4 separate regions of the Homo sapiens genome follow, and all the other regions are linked to region 3. The links are contacts of gene promoters, found by promoter capture Hi-C in human tissues and cell types (Jung and others, 2019). All regions are on one chromosome and are shown on one strand. Each heading gives the region's core, a stretch centred on a gene start or on the middle of the fragment in contact. The rest is flanking DNA. Distances are from core to core; before and after follow the strand shown.

Region 1 (3,062 bases), core at 436-2,935, 290 kb before region 3:
TGTAAGTAGTTCCTTCCTTAAAAAACCTCTTCAAAAATCCCAGCTGAGCATGCTACCTGTCTTCTGTTTTCCTCCTAGGACCAAAATGTTTGGCTTGAGAATATGGGTAAGCACATCCTCCCTTCCCCCTTGAGCTATCAGTAAGAAAGTCACAGGTCACCAGTAACTTACCAAATAAATCCCCACGTCTGTCCTCTTCAACCTCCCTCATATACCTTCAAGGTAGGTGGTGATGAGCTGAAGATAGCAAAATTGGTTTCAGCTTTTCCTGAAAGAGCTTATGATTTAGTTGGTGAGCTAGATATATAAGCTCCCTATCACAAGAAAGGATAAAGTAACTGCTCAACAGAGGAAGGTATAAGCAATGTACTGTGGTCCCTGGGAAAGAAGGTGGGGAGTTGTAGCTGGTGAGGTCCTGACCCCACCCAGGGAGTGGTGGAGATGATGTGTAGAGGTGTGTTTGAAGTGGAGCATGACATCTGGAGTGGCCATCATCAGGGAAAGACAGAGTAGGATGCACACAGATGGGGCTAGAGAAAGGGCTTGGCGCTGTGCTGTACTTGAAGTATAAACGTTAATGTGTCAGGGATGGGAAGGCATAGAAGGTTAACTGAATGGGTGGGGGATATCCAGGCAGTGCCAATGGCATGAAAAGTGATTGGAGAAGTTAAGAATGGACACAAAGAAACCAGTTGCAAGAATACAAGAGAGAAATTATTAAACGGAAAGACAGGTACACTTCACATCGGGAAAAGAAAGTCCCCAGAGTCCAGAGGGAGAACTGGCAAGAATAAATAAGCAATTCAGCTGTGGGAGACTAGGGGAAGGAATCTGAAATTAGGTGAAGCTTTCCCACTTAGACAACTGCAGATATCACTCATTGAGGTAGAAAATATAGGAGGAAGAGCTAGGGAAATATAATGCGTGAAATTGGAGGCACATTTTATTAAAGGTGCTAATTGAGGCACCCTGGGGGTTTTGCTACTTACTAATGTTACAATCTGAGGCAAGTTGCTTAACCTTTCTCCTCCTGGGTTCTCTCATCTACAAAATGAGGACAACAATGTTACTACTTCATAGGGTTCTATGAAGGTTAAACGGTAATGTAAGTAAAGATTTAGCACTAAGCCTGGCACAAAGTACTTGACACATGCCATCGTTGTTATCATAGGGTCATCTCTATAGAAATGGGAGTTTGGAGTTCAAGAGAGAAGCAGAGAGCCAGAAGTAGAGAGGTGGAAGCTCTCTGAGAAGCAGAGAGGTGGAAGCTCTCTTAGAAGCAGAGAGGTGGAAGCCCTCAGAGAAGGTAAGCAGGTTCTGAGAAGGACAGAAATCCTTTGGGGAGAGAGGGGAGTGGCATATAAGAAATGTAGCAAGATGGCCAATTAGAAGCAGCTGCAGTTTGCGGAACTCATGGAGAGGAATGGAAGGGGCGAGTGGATACAGCACCTTCAACTGAAATATCTAGGTTGTTGCATTGGGACTGATCAGGGAAACAACTAGACCCATGAAGAATGAAGAAAAGGGTGACGGCTTACTCGGGAGCAACACAGAGCCAAGGGAATTCCCACCCCTAGCCAAAGGAAGCAACTTCACCAGTGATACCTCCAGGTATGGGAAGAACTGAGGCAACCAGGGTCTAGAGCAGACTCCCAGCAAACCACAGCAGACCTATGAAGAATAGTCAGGCTGTTAAAAGAAAAACAAACAAACAAACAGAAAATAACAACAAATCACAAAAACCCTATCCAAAGGTCAGCAACCTCAAAGACTGAAGGTAGATAAGCCCACAAAGATAAGAAAGAATCAACACAAAAATGCTAAAAACTCAAAAAGCCACAGTGCCCCTTTTCCTCCAATGACCACAACATCTCTCCAGCAAGGGCTCAGAACTGGGCTGAGGCTGAGATGGCTGAAATGACAGAAGTAGGCTTCAGAATGTGGATAATAATGAACTTTACTGAGTTAAAGAAGCATGTTGTAGTCCAATGCAAAGACACTAAGAATCATGACAAAATAATACAGGAGCTGACAGCCAAAATAGCCAATTTAGAGAGAGGAGCATAACCGACCTGTAAGAGCTGAAAAACATATTACAAGAACTTCATAATGCAATCACAAGTATTAATAGCAGAGTAGATCAAGTGTAGGAAAGAATCTCAGAGCTGGAAGACTAGCTTCTGGATTAAGACAGGCAGACAAGAATGGAGAAAAAAAGAATTAAAAGGAATGAATAAAATCTCCAAGAAATATGGGATTATGTGAAGTGACTGAATATCTGTGCCTGATTGATATACCTAAAAGAGACAGGGAGAATGGAACCAAGTTGGAAAAGACACTTCAGGAAATCATCCAGGAGAACTTCCCCAACCTAGCAAGATGGGCCAACATTCAAATTCAGGAAATGAAGACAACCCCAGTAAGATACTCCATGAGAAGATCAACCCCAAGACACAAACTTCAGATTCTCCAAGGTTGAAATGAAAAAAGAAAAAAAATGTTAAGGGCAGCCAGATAGAAAGGCCAGGTCACCTACAAAGGGAAGCCCATCAGACTAACAGTGGATCTCTCAGTGGTAACCCTACAAGCCGGAAGAGATTGTGGGCCAATACTCAACATTCTTAGAGAAAAGAATTTCCAAACCAGAATTTCATATTGACCAAACTAAGCTTCATAAGTGAAGGAGAAATAAGATCCTTTTTAGACAAGCAAATGCTGAGGGAATTTGGTACCACAAGACCTGCATTGCAAGAGCTCCTGAAGGAAGCACTAAATATGGAAAGGAAAAACCATTACCAGCCACTAAAAAAAACACACACACACTGAAGTACACAGACCAGTGACACTATGAAGCAATCACATAAACAAGTCTGCGAAATAAACAGCTAGCATCATGATGACAGGATCAAATCCACACATAACAATACTAACCTTAAGTGCAAATGGGCTAAATGCCCCAATTAAAAGACATGGAATGGCAAGCAGGATAAAAAACCTAGACCCATTGTTATGCTGTCTTCAAGAGACCTGCCTCACATGCAAAGACACATGCAGGCTCAAAA
Region 2 (2,869 bases), core at 153-2,652, 390 kb before region 3:
GGAGGCCAGAGAGGTGGCCAAGGAATTAATAAAGGAATCTAAAGATTTTTCTCTATCCCCAAAGGCTGCCACTTGAGATAGTTCTTGCTTTGGGGGAGTCATGTGAGTGTGTGGCAAGGAGAGGGGAAGAGGGTTGTGGGGGAGAAGCTTCTGAATCCATTCAGCTTCATGCGACAGGATTTTGACTCTGGCCTGTCACTGGAAACAGATCTGACCCCTTCTCCACGGTGATATTTGTAATCTTTTCTCTTTGCAGTCAAGGGTATCAATGAAGAGTGAATGTGTATGACATGCAGTTTTTGGTGAGAAGTTTACTGTGGGCCTTAGGATATTTTCTGCTGGAGACAATACACTTGATGTAATGATTTTCTGTACCACAGAAATCACAGGAATCTGTTTTCTAAGGATTGATTACATGTCAGCTGACTAACGTCAACAGTCCTTTGTGGGTTGGTATTTTAACAATGTGGCAGTGTTTAGAGGAATTGGTGGTTTTTACCTGGATCTTAGGAAATCACCAATGATGATAATACAATGGGTGAACAATGGGTAAGCTAAGATGTTGCACGTACATGAAGAAGAGATAAGTATCTGAATGGCAAATAGGTGCCCCTAATTCCTAATAGTGTAACATTATCAATGAGGACAGTGACTTCTAGGAAGTTGTTACAGTGGCCGGAGGCCAGTAGCCTTTCTGCAGTTGCTCAAGTCACTTTGGTTGAGAAAGCCTGCATAATCCAGCTCCCATTTTCCTCTGTCTTCTTTTCACCATCTGAGTTATCTCAGAGGTAACACCCCATACCCCCTATCTTAGTGTGGTTTCTCCTGGAAGCAGACCCTAGTACAAGTAGTTTATTTGGGAAATGATCCCTGGAAGCACTGGTAACAGACAAGGGAAGTGAGACATGGAGGGAAGGCAGCCAATCTAGGGGGCAATGGCAAGCCATTTTCCACTATGGGCAATTGGAGCTCAATCCCACTTGGAGACTCTAGGGGCCTGTAGAGGATACATGCCTCAGAGCTCTCACTCCTGCAGAGGGAGGGAGCTGGGGTACGTATACACCAACTGCCAACAGTCATTGATTGAGTCCTCCCGGGGCAGGGGATTTTAATTCCCCAGCACCAGCCTGCCCCACATATATCTCTTGAGTAGGTGAAAAATGCTCTCGGGGGAGTGGGTAGTGCTAGCAGGTGAAGTCATGCTAGTGTGCACATGCCTGGCATGTGGAAGGGATGCAGGTGGGGCTCTGACAACATCTACCCTGTTCCTTATTTCTTGTTTTTCATTATCCTTGTCTGAAAAATATTACTACTGCCTGTAGTTAATATAGTCTCTTACAAACAAACCTAATTCTTTGGCAACAAAACTAGCAGAGAAAGAGGCAGAGGAAATGAAACATTCTAGCTAGTCTATTGCCTGATTTCTTATAGGCCTGGCTGGTATTTTGGGAGTCAGGTTTGTTTTCTGGCCTGGCAAATAGGAGTAACTGTAGCAGCCCTTGGTTTTCTATGGACCCTATTTTAATAGAATGCAGACTGCTTAGACTTTGGCTCACATTCTGCATGCTGAGGTGAGCTACTCTTTCCTCACTTGCTGCCTCAGTTTCCCTTTTTGCAGTGACACCTCAGATAGGAAGCTCTGACATCAGAAGCTCTTCAATTCAGCTTCTACTTGGGGCAATGGAAAAGGTACGATGTGTTACTGTGATGGAAAGCACTGTCAACCAACCCTGGCAGAGGTGCCAGGGGCATGAGGGACTCAAGCCGTTTCGAGGACTCATCCTAGAACAATGCAAACAATTGTCCTCAATCCTGGGTCTATGGGCCTGTTTACTCACTCCGTGCTGTGCCCGGCAGAAACTTGCAGTGATTTAGGAAGTCAGGGAGAGACATTTCTGGCTGTGCGGAACCTGATGAAATACTGTTTTGTGGAGACAGACTAAAAAATAACCAAACGGTCTTTAAGTGGAACAGAGATCAGAAAATCTCCTGAGGCACATTTAAGAAACCCATCAATTTTGCTGGCTTGGCCATAGAAGGGAAAATTGCACTGCAAATGATTATCTCTGATGAAATGTTCCCAAGTCTTTTACAGGGCACTTATTTGTAGTGACCTATTACTCCACCAACGAGGCCTGACTGAGAAGCCCCCACTGGGTGGTTTATAAGGGGAGTCTGCAGAGTAATTGCAGGCTCAATCCTGAGGGCCTCCTGTGTCCTATCTTCTCAACCACCTTACAGGTATCCTGAGGCTGGGGACTCTCCTATGGATTTGTGTGTTTTCCACAGGGCCTCCAACTTTACAGATGTACATAAATTACTGAATGAATAAACCTGAGACCAAGGCTTTCTGCCCAAAGTCCTCATCGTAGAAGCCCTCAATTTCCTACTTGCCCTGACCAAACTGAGGAAAAGCTGTGGCAAAAGCTCCTACTGCGTTCAGCCTGAAATAATTCACCACAACCTGTATCATCAACCCATACCCAATTACCTAAAGTGCTCTTTCTAGAGAAATTAAAAAAAAAATTCTGTTCTCCAACATAAGATTCATTTTAAAATGACAGCTGAGGTCATTTCTTTTATAAAAGCTGAGGTGGGTTGTCTGATATTCCCTCCTGTCTTCTTTCCTTGGTGGATTCATACTGTTTTATTTTTTATTTATTATTAAATATGGTAAAATTGACTTGGGAGCATGTGTGTGCATCATGGGTTTGGACACACACATAGATTTGTGTAGCCACCTTCAAAAGCAGGATCCCCAAGAGTTCTGTCACCCCTGGACTCCCTCACAAGGCCATGTTGGACTCACACCCTTCTCCCACCCCTGCCCTGCATTGTGGAAGTTCTCACTTTTTCAGAATGTCATATA
Region 3 (3,069 bases), core at 7-2,506:
GTTTTAATGATGATTTGCAATTATCCGTGCCCCCTCCCATTCATGGTGAGATGAATACCTAAACACTTATGTTGTCTAACCATATAAGTATTTTGCATCTCACGTGTATCATTTTAAGTTCATTTCATTCTCCAATCCTTGGGAACCATGAAGGATAACACATTACATTCTCTTTTTTTTTTTTTTTTCCTCTGGAAGATCATGCATTACATTCTCTTTTTTTCTCTGGAAGGGTGGCCCTTAAACCAAGCCATTTCCCTAAGCCCCTTTGGTGAGGTGGAGAAACAGACAACCACTAACACAGAACAACCACTGAACACCCAGAAAACTGTATACAGGTCATCACCCAGTGGGGGCACCATTTGCTTGCAGAGGGAGCTGGGGAAAATAGGAAACAGAGAAGATCAAATACTCCCCGTGAGGGTGTTGCCAATCCCAGAGAGGACAATTGCTCTTGACCAAAGCAATCTCTAGTTCAGTCAAGGAGACAGACCACAATCACATTTAAAAAAAAAAGAAAAAAAAAAACTAAAAGGAAATTTTAAAAGTATGAATAAGAGCTATTGTAAACTGCTCAAACTATGCATACAAGCAATGAAGTAAGATGAATTGACTGGCACTGAATTGGAAAAGCTATACAGAGGCAGGGAGTGTGGAACATAATTTAATAAAAATAAACTTAAAAAAATATATATACACTCCCAAAAAAGAAATGGAAAAGTTGTTAGGGCGTGGACCAGGACTCCTAATTAGCTGTTCTGTTGTGCCTGATTTCGCTCCTGTCTTGCCCAGCACCCCTTGGGACACACTGTCCAGTGCAGGGACACTTTGGGGAGGGACAGGGGATTCCTTGGCACCGGGACCTTCACCTCCGAGCCGGCCTCAGACCAGGCCATTTGCCCGTAGCCCAGAGGAGGAGCCGGGGAGAAACCCGCTGCCCAGGTGGCCACTTTTGCCTCTTTGACCCTTCCATGTTTCCAAAACAGAAGGGGCCCTGAGAACGCTCCCTGCCAAAGTGGGGAACAGCTACCCTCATTGTACGCCTCGCCCTGCCGGTGGCGCTCTCCCCCCGCCTGCGTTCGGTCTGAAAGTGTGAAAATTACAAATCCCAAGAAACTGCAATCAGAAGTCTACCTAGGGAAAATTCAGAGTAACCTTGCCATAAATATCCCGCTCCAAGACGCCTGACGTCAGAGCGGGGCGGGCGGACGGGCGCGAGGCCGGGCCTGGAGGGGCGGCAGCCGCGGCTTCCCGGGGATAGCGCGGAGCACGCAGCAGCGAGCGGAGCGCGGGCGGCGGCGCCGTACCTCGGGCTGCGGGAGCGCGGGCGCCCTGGGGTCCTCGGAGTAAGTGCGGCCGGCCCTGGCGCTCCCCGTCTTGGGGCCCGGGCCGCGGGGAGCCCTCTCCGCTGGGCTCCCACACTTCTCTCCCTCTGCTTTCTTTAGCATGCCCCGCGGGGCTTGGGGAGGCAGCAGCTCCGCAGGCTGGCGGTTTTGTTTCTCCAAAGTGTTTGCAGGAGCCGCCGACCCCGGAGTGGGCTCCCAGGGCCTGTGTGTGTGTGAGTTGTGTGTGTGTATGAGTGTGATTGCGTGTGTCTGTACTGGCACATCTGGACATAGGAAATGTCTTTGGAAAACTTTTTAAAAATGTTTTTTGCGGCTTTGAAACCTGACCCCTGGTTGTCACAAGTGGACAAACACAGAAGATACCCCGCAAAACTGACAACTTTTTGGTGGTGGCTTTTCCGGGTTCGGCTTGAACCTTCACTTGGCTGGGCTGAAGTCTTCACAAGCCCCCAGCTCCCACTTGCAGGCCTGGCCTCTGGCCAGTGGGCAGGGCAGCCGTAAGGTTCTTGTTCTCAGTGGCAGTGGGACCCTGGGCGGGGGAAGGAGCATCTCAGGAAAGGGGTCCCCGGACTCTGGGGCTCTCAGCACCTGCGGTCGCAAACCAACCTCATGCCCTGACTTTACCAGGCGTCGGGACTCTGACTTAACCGGGGAATGAGGGACTTGGTCTGGCGGCAGGTAATTTTGTGAAGAGGATGAGAAGGAAGAGGGGGAGGTGGTGGTGATGGCCAGGACGCTGTGGCCCTGTGTCCAGCCGTAGCTTGGGAGTGGGATGGTTGGTTCTGCCACATGGCCACGGTGAGGTACGTGCCAGGTTCTCCAGGAGTGCCGCGTGTGGTGCCCCAAACAAGATGCAAGCTCCTAACATAAAGAGACGTGTCTGAGCTGTGGGGTGGAGGAAGGGGGGCGGTGGGGGAGAGGGAGATTTTTATCAAAATTGAACACAGATTGCTGAGATCTGGGCTTGATTTAACTCTTCTCTCTCTGCCTCGGCCACTTCTCCACAGTTTTGGAGTGGATTTGGAACGTTTCTCGGAGGGTTAGAGGAAAATCACACCTCTCCGGAAAAGAGTCCCCATAGGTTTTCCCTTGATGCCCACGTGGGAATGAAAGCAGCTTCCCATCTTTAAAAAGTTCAAAGTCTTGTGTTTTCCCCCTTCTGAGTTTGGTGTTAGTTTCCTGAGTTTCTTTGCAAAGCCAGCTGAAGCGGGGGATGGATTTTCCCTAGGGCCTAGGGCGGAAAGTGTGCTCCACGGAGAGTAGGGGAAAAAAGCAGCAGTGAGGCTGTATCGATCCATCATCCCTGAGTAGCACAGTGCCAGGCACTGCCTGTCAATAGCTGGGTTCCACAAACGAGTGACCACAGACAGACTGAATTTTCAGCTTTGAGCTAGCCAGGTCTCTGGTTTTGTATTTTGCAGTAGAGCCAACCTACAATGTCTGGGTGGGAGGAAGATTACTGGACTCTCCCTCTGTCCTAGAAAAATGAGAAAATGAAGGGACAGGGAGGAAATCTGGATGTAAAAACAGACCCACAGGAAGTTAAGATTCAGGAAGGATTTTAGAAATTATATAAATTGAACCCCAGGGAAGCTCCATAAAAGATGGAGCAGGCAGCAATGTCAGAAACAGACTCATTTAACTTCAGGAGTACGTTGTCAACTGAAGTGTAATGAAGGAGGAGGAAATCATCCCATAGGCAATGTAAACAAGGGTGCATGTA
Region 4 (3,015 bases), core at 246-2,745, 370 kb before region 3:
CATTGAGGTGGTGCTAAGTTTCAGTTAGAGGTTAGTAGAAATACAGGGGCATTTCTCTCCTATCAAGATCCTGGACCTTAGGTCAAGAACTCCTGAGACACAAGGATTCTGAGTGTGGCTGTTGGCTGTGTCTCTGGGTCTGGCTGCCTCAGCCCCTTCTGTCTCAGGCCACAGAGGGGACTGTGGGGCTCCTGTTTACCGACCGAGACAAACTGAGGCTATCGTGATTTTTATATTCTGTTAGAAAAATTAAAGGGGGCACTCACAGTGGCTTCTGTCCTGTCCTCACTTGTAGGCGGAGAAAAGGGGGTAGTAAGAGAGACCCAGCGGGCCAGCTGTGAGCCAGTAACTGCTGCCTTCTCCAGCACAGAGGTGAGGCACAGGGATCGCCTCTGTGAAGCTGCCCTGGGCCTGGGAGATGGGTCTCTGTGGTATCTTTTAGTTTGGGATGAAAAAAACATTGTCCTCTTACTTTTAAAAGGATTTGAGGCTGGGTGTGGTGGCTCACCACCTGTAGTCCCAGCACTTTGGGAGGCCGAGGTGGGTGGATCACTTGAGGTCAGGAGTTCGAGACCAGCCTAGCCAACGTGGTGAAACCCCATCTCTACTAAAATCACAAAAATTAGCTGGGTGTGATGGCATGCACCCATAGTCCCAGTCACATGGGAAGCTGAGGCAGGAGAATCACTTGAACCTGGGAGGTGGAGGTTGCAGTGAGCTGAGATCACGCCACTGCACTCCAGCCTGGGCAACAGAGTGAGACTCTGTCTCAAAAAAAAAAAAAAAAAAAAAAGAGAATTCGAGGCACATTTTACTGAGTTGCCTCTTGCCTTAACTTCACCTTTGCAGGGGTACTCACCTAAGTGGGGAGCCCTCCGTGGCAGCCTCCACCTTGGGAAGGCACGATGGCTTGTTTTTGCTTCTTATCCTTCCACCAGCTTATTGACTGATGCTAAAATATCATACCTGTGCCAAATATGCTAAGCAGAAGCTTTGGGAGGTGTAAGAGTGTTTCCCCATACTTGAAATACGAAATGACGTCTCACTGTAACCGTGAAGTTATGATTAGCTGAGCTACTGCTGAAAAACACCAGGGAAAAGCACAACTCTCTGATTGGGATGCTGGAGCTCAGGTCTGCCTGAGGATGAAAAGTTCAAGTTCTAGACAAAAGAAAGTGCTTTTCCTGCTGGGTGGTGGGAGGGATCACACACTTCCTAGGGAAGGCTCTCAAAGCAGCTTCCTTGGCAGGGGCTCTCCTGAAACTGGCCATTTGGGGCTTCATGGCCATTTGGAGGCACATCATGACCTGATTTTCACCAGGAAAATGGTTTCTGAAAGAGGCTCACAGAATATCATCTGCTTACCAATTTTACTTCTTGCTTCATTTATACTTTCTCCCAGGGCCTTGGCTTCAGAAAATCTGGAGGGGAAAAAAATGAAAATTGTAGTTTTTCTGTTCATCCTACAAGATGTTTTAAAAATAATAGATTTCTTAGAGGTCACTAAAATATGATGAAACTTTATTGAAAGACACAAAAGAAAAATCTAAATAAGTAAAATATATTAGGCTTAAAAATAGAGAGAAAATTGGTATTAATTATAGGTATTGTTAATTTTTACTCTATCCAGCACAGAATTTGTATTCTCATAGTCTCTCATTTATGACTTTTAATTTATATTATTTCATGATGCAAAGATATCAGAATAAAGCCTGGCTGTAAGGTTTCTGTGCTGTGTTCTATTGATTATGATACCAAGATCTTATAACCAAAGAATATATACTTACATAACTTTTTTCTGATTATAAAATAATATATCAGAGGTTGTAAAACTATGGCTGGTTATGAGACAAATCTGGCCTGCTGCCTGTTTCTGTAAATAAAGTTGCCCTGGAACACCGCCACTCCTATTCACTGACGCATTTTCTGTGGCTGCTTTCACGCTACAAGACAGAGTCGACTAGATGTGACAGAGACTGCGTGGCCTACAGGGCTGAAAATATTTTCTACCTCACCCTTTATAGAAGAAGTTTGCTGATTCCTGTTATATACCGTTATTAAGCCAGATTTTGAAAATACAAAAACAAGAAAAAAATTCTCAAGTACTCCTCTACCCAGAAATAAGCACATTGGATACACGTATCCACCCCGTCTTTTATAGAGCCAGTTTTTATAGGGTTGGGATCATAATACAGATATGATTTTGTGCCCCGATGTTTTTTTTTCACTTAGCATTGTAACATAAGTCCTTCCCTGTATTATGAGATGCATACCTTTGATGGCTTCATGCTAGTCTACTAGATTGCTGTGCTAATGTTTAGTGAGTGATTCCTTTATGTTTCTGGCCTATGTTTGAGACACCCACGATGAGCCAACTTTGCGCTAGAGAAGCAGACAGGACATGGCCTATGTGAGAACATGTAGTTCAGTCCCTATACATAGTGGGCCCTCATGAAATGTTAGTTGCTTTCCCTCCTCTCCTTTCTGCCATGAAGTTAAAGAGACAATTGAAAGCCTATGAAAGCAAGCACCTAATAGATAGCTGAATTAAATGGCTGTACCTTGGCGGGGCTAGTCATGCCATTAGCGTTTGACTAGGGAGTGGCCTGTCCACGAGTGAGCGGAGAGCTGTCAGGAAAGCTTCATGTACAAGGTGGGAGTGACCTGGGTTTTGTGGATCCACAGGAGTTTTTAGAAAATGTTTTATTATGAAAATTTCCAAATATACACAGGATAGTAGAATGAACCCTAACATACCCAGTATCACATTTTATTAATTGTCCAGTTTTATTTCAACTATTTCCCCTCCTCCTCCGCACTCTTCTCTTCTCACTTCCCCATCTCTAATATCCCGGCAAATCCCAGATATCCTATTGTTTCATCCTTGAACACTTTAGTTGACTGGGATTGTGTTGGAGGAAGTGAGCAGAGGAGGGCATTCCAGGCAGGGGAACAACAAAAGCAAAGGCCAGAGTGCCACGACTGCTCTGTGTTGGATGGAAAAGAAGTGTGAAT

What was found. Contacts are between HindIII fragments. The study calls those that stand out against the background at their distance.
Region 1: a contact is called between a fragment that was not itself captured here and the fragment with the promoter of DAAM2 in region 3, in 2 of the 25 tissues and cell types used here (hippocampus and mesendoderm cells).
Region 2: a fragment that was not itself captured here is called in contact with the fragment with the promoter of DAAM2 in region 3 in 2 of the 25 tissues and cell types used here (bladder and dorsolateral prefrontal cortex).
Region 4: a contact is called between a fragment that was not itself captured here and the fragment with the promoter of DAAM2 in region 3, in 2 of the 25 tissues and cell types used here (dorsolateral prefrontal cortex and mesenchymal stem cells).

Annotation. Positions count from the first base shown.
Region 1 is chr6:39,499,571-39,502,632 of GRCh38, forward strand. The region is part of intron 13 of KIF6 (kinesin family member 6); the gene reads right to left. Among named protein-coding and RNA genes, the nearest start is that of KCNK16, 180 kb to the left of the region's middle. The HindIII fragment of the contact is 4,347 bases long and covers 1-3,062 here.
Region 2 is chr6:39,400,526-39,403,394 of GRCh38, forward strand. All of the region lies in intron 15 of KIF6 (kinesin family member 6), which reads right to left. Among named protein-coding and RNA genes, the nearest start is that of KCNK16, 79 kb to the left of the region's middle. The HindIII fragment of the contact is 3,368 bases long and covers 1-2,869 here.
Region 3 is chr6:39,791,120-39,794,188 of GRCh38, forward strand. It overlaps DAAM2 (dishevelled associated activator of morphogenesis 2), which reads left to right and starts at 1,257. Exons shown (of 25, transcript NM_001201427.2): 1 at 1,257-1,346. The HindIII fragment of the contact is 10,904 bases long and covers 1-3,069 here.
Region 4 is chr6:39,418,583-39,421,597 of GRCh38, forward strand. It overlaps KIF6 (kinesin family member 6), which reads right to left. Exons shown (of 23, transcript NM_145027.6): 15 at 1,366-1,421. Among named protein-coding and RNA genes, the nearest start is that of KCNK16, 97 kb to the left of the region's middle. The HindIII fragment of the contact is 3,152 bases long and covers 1-3,015 here.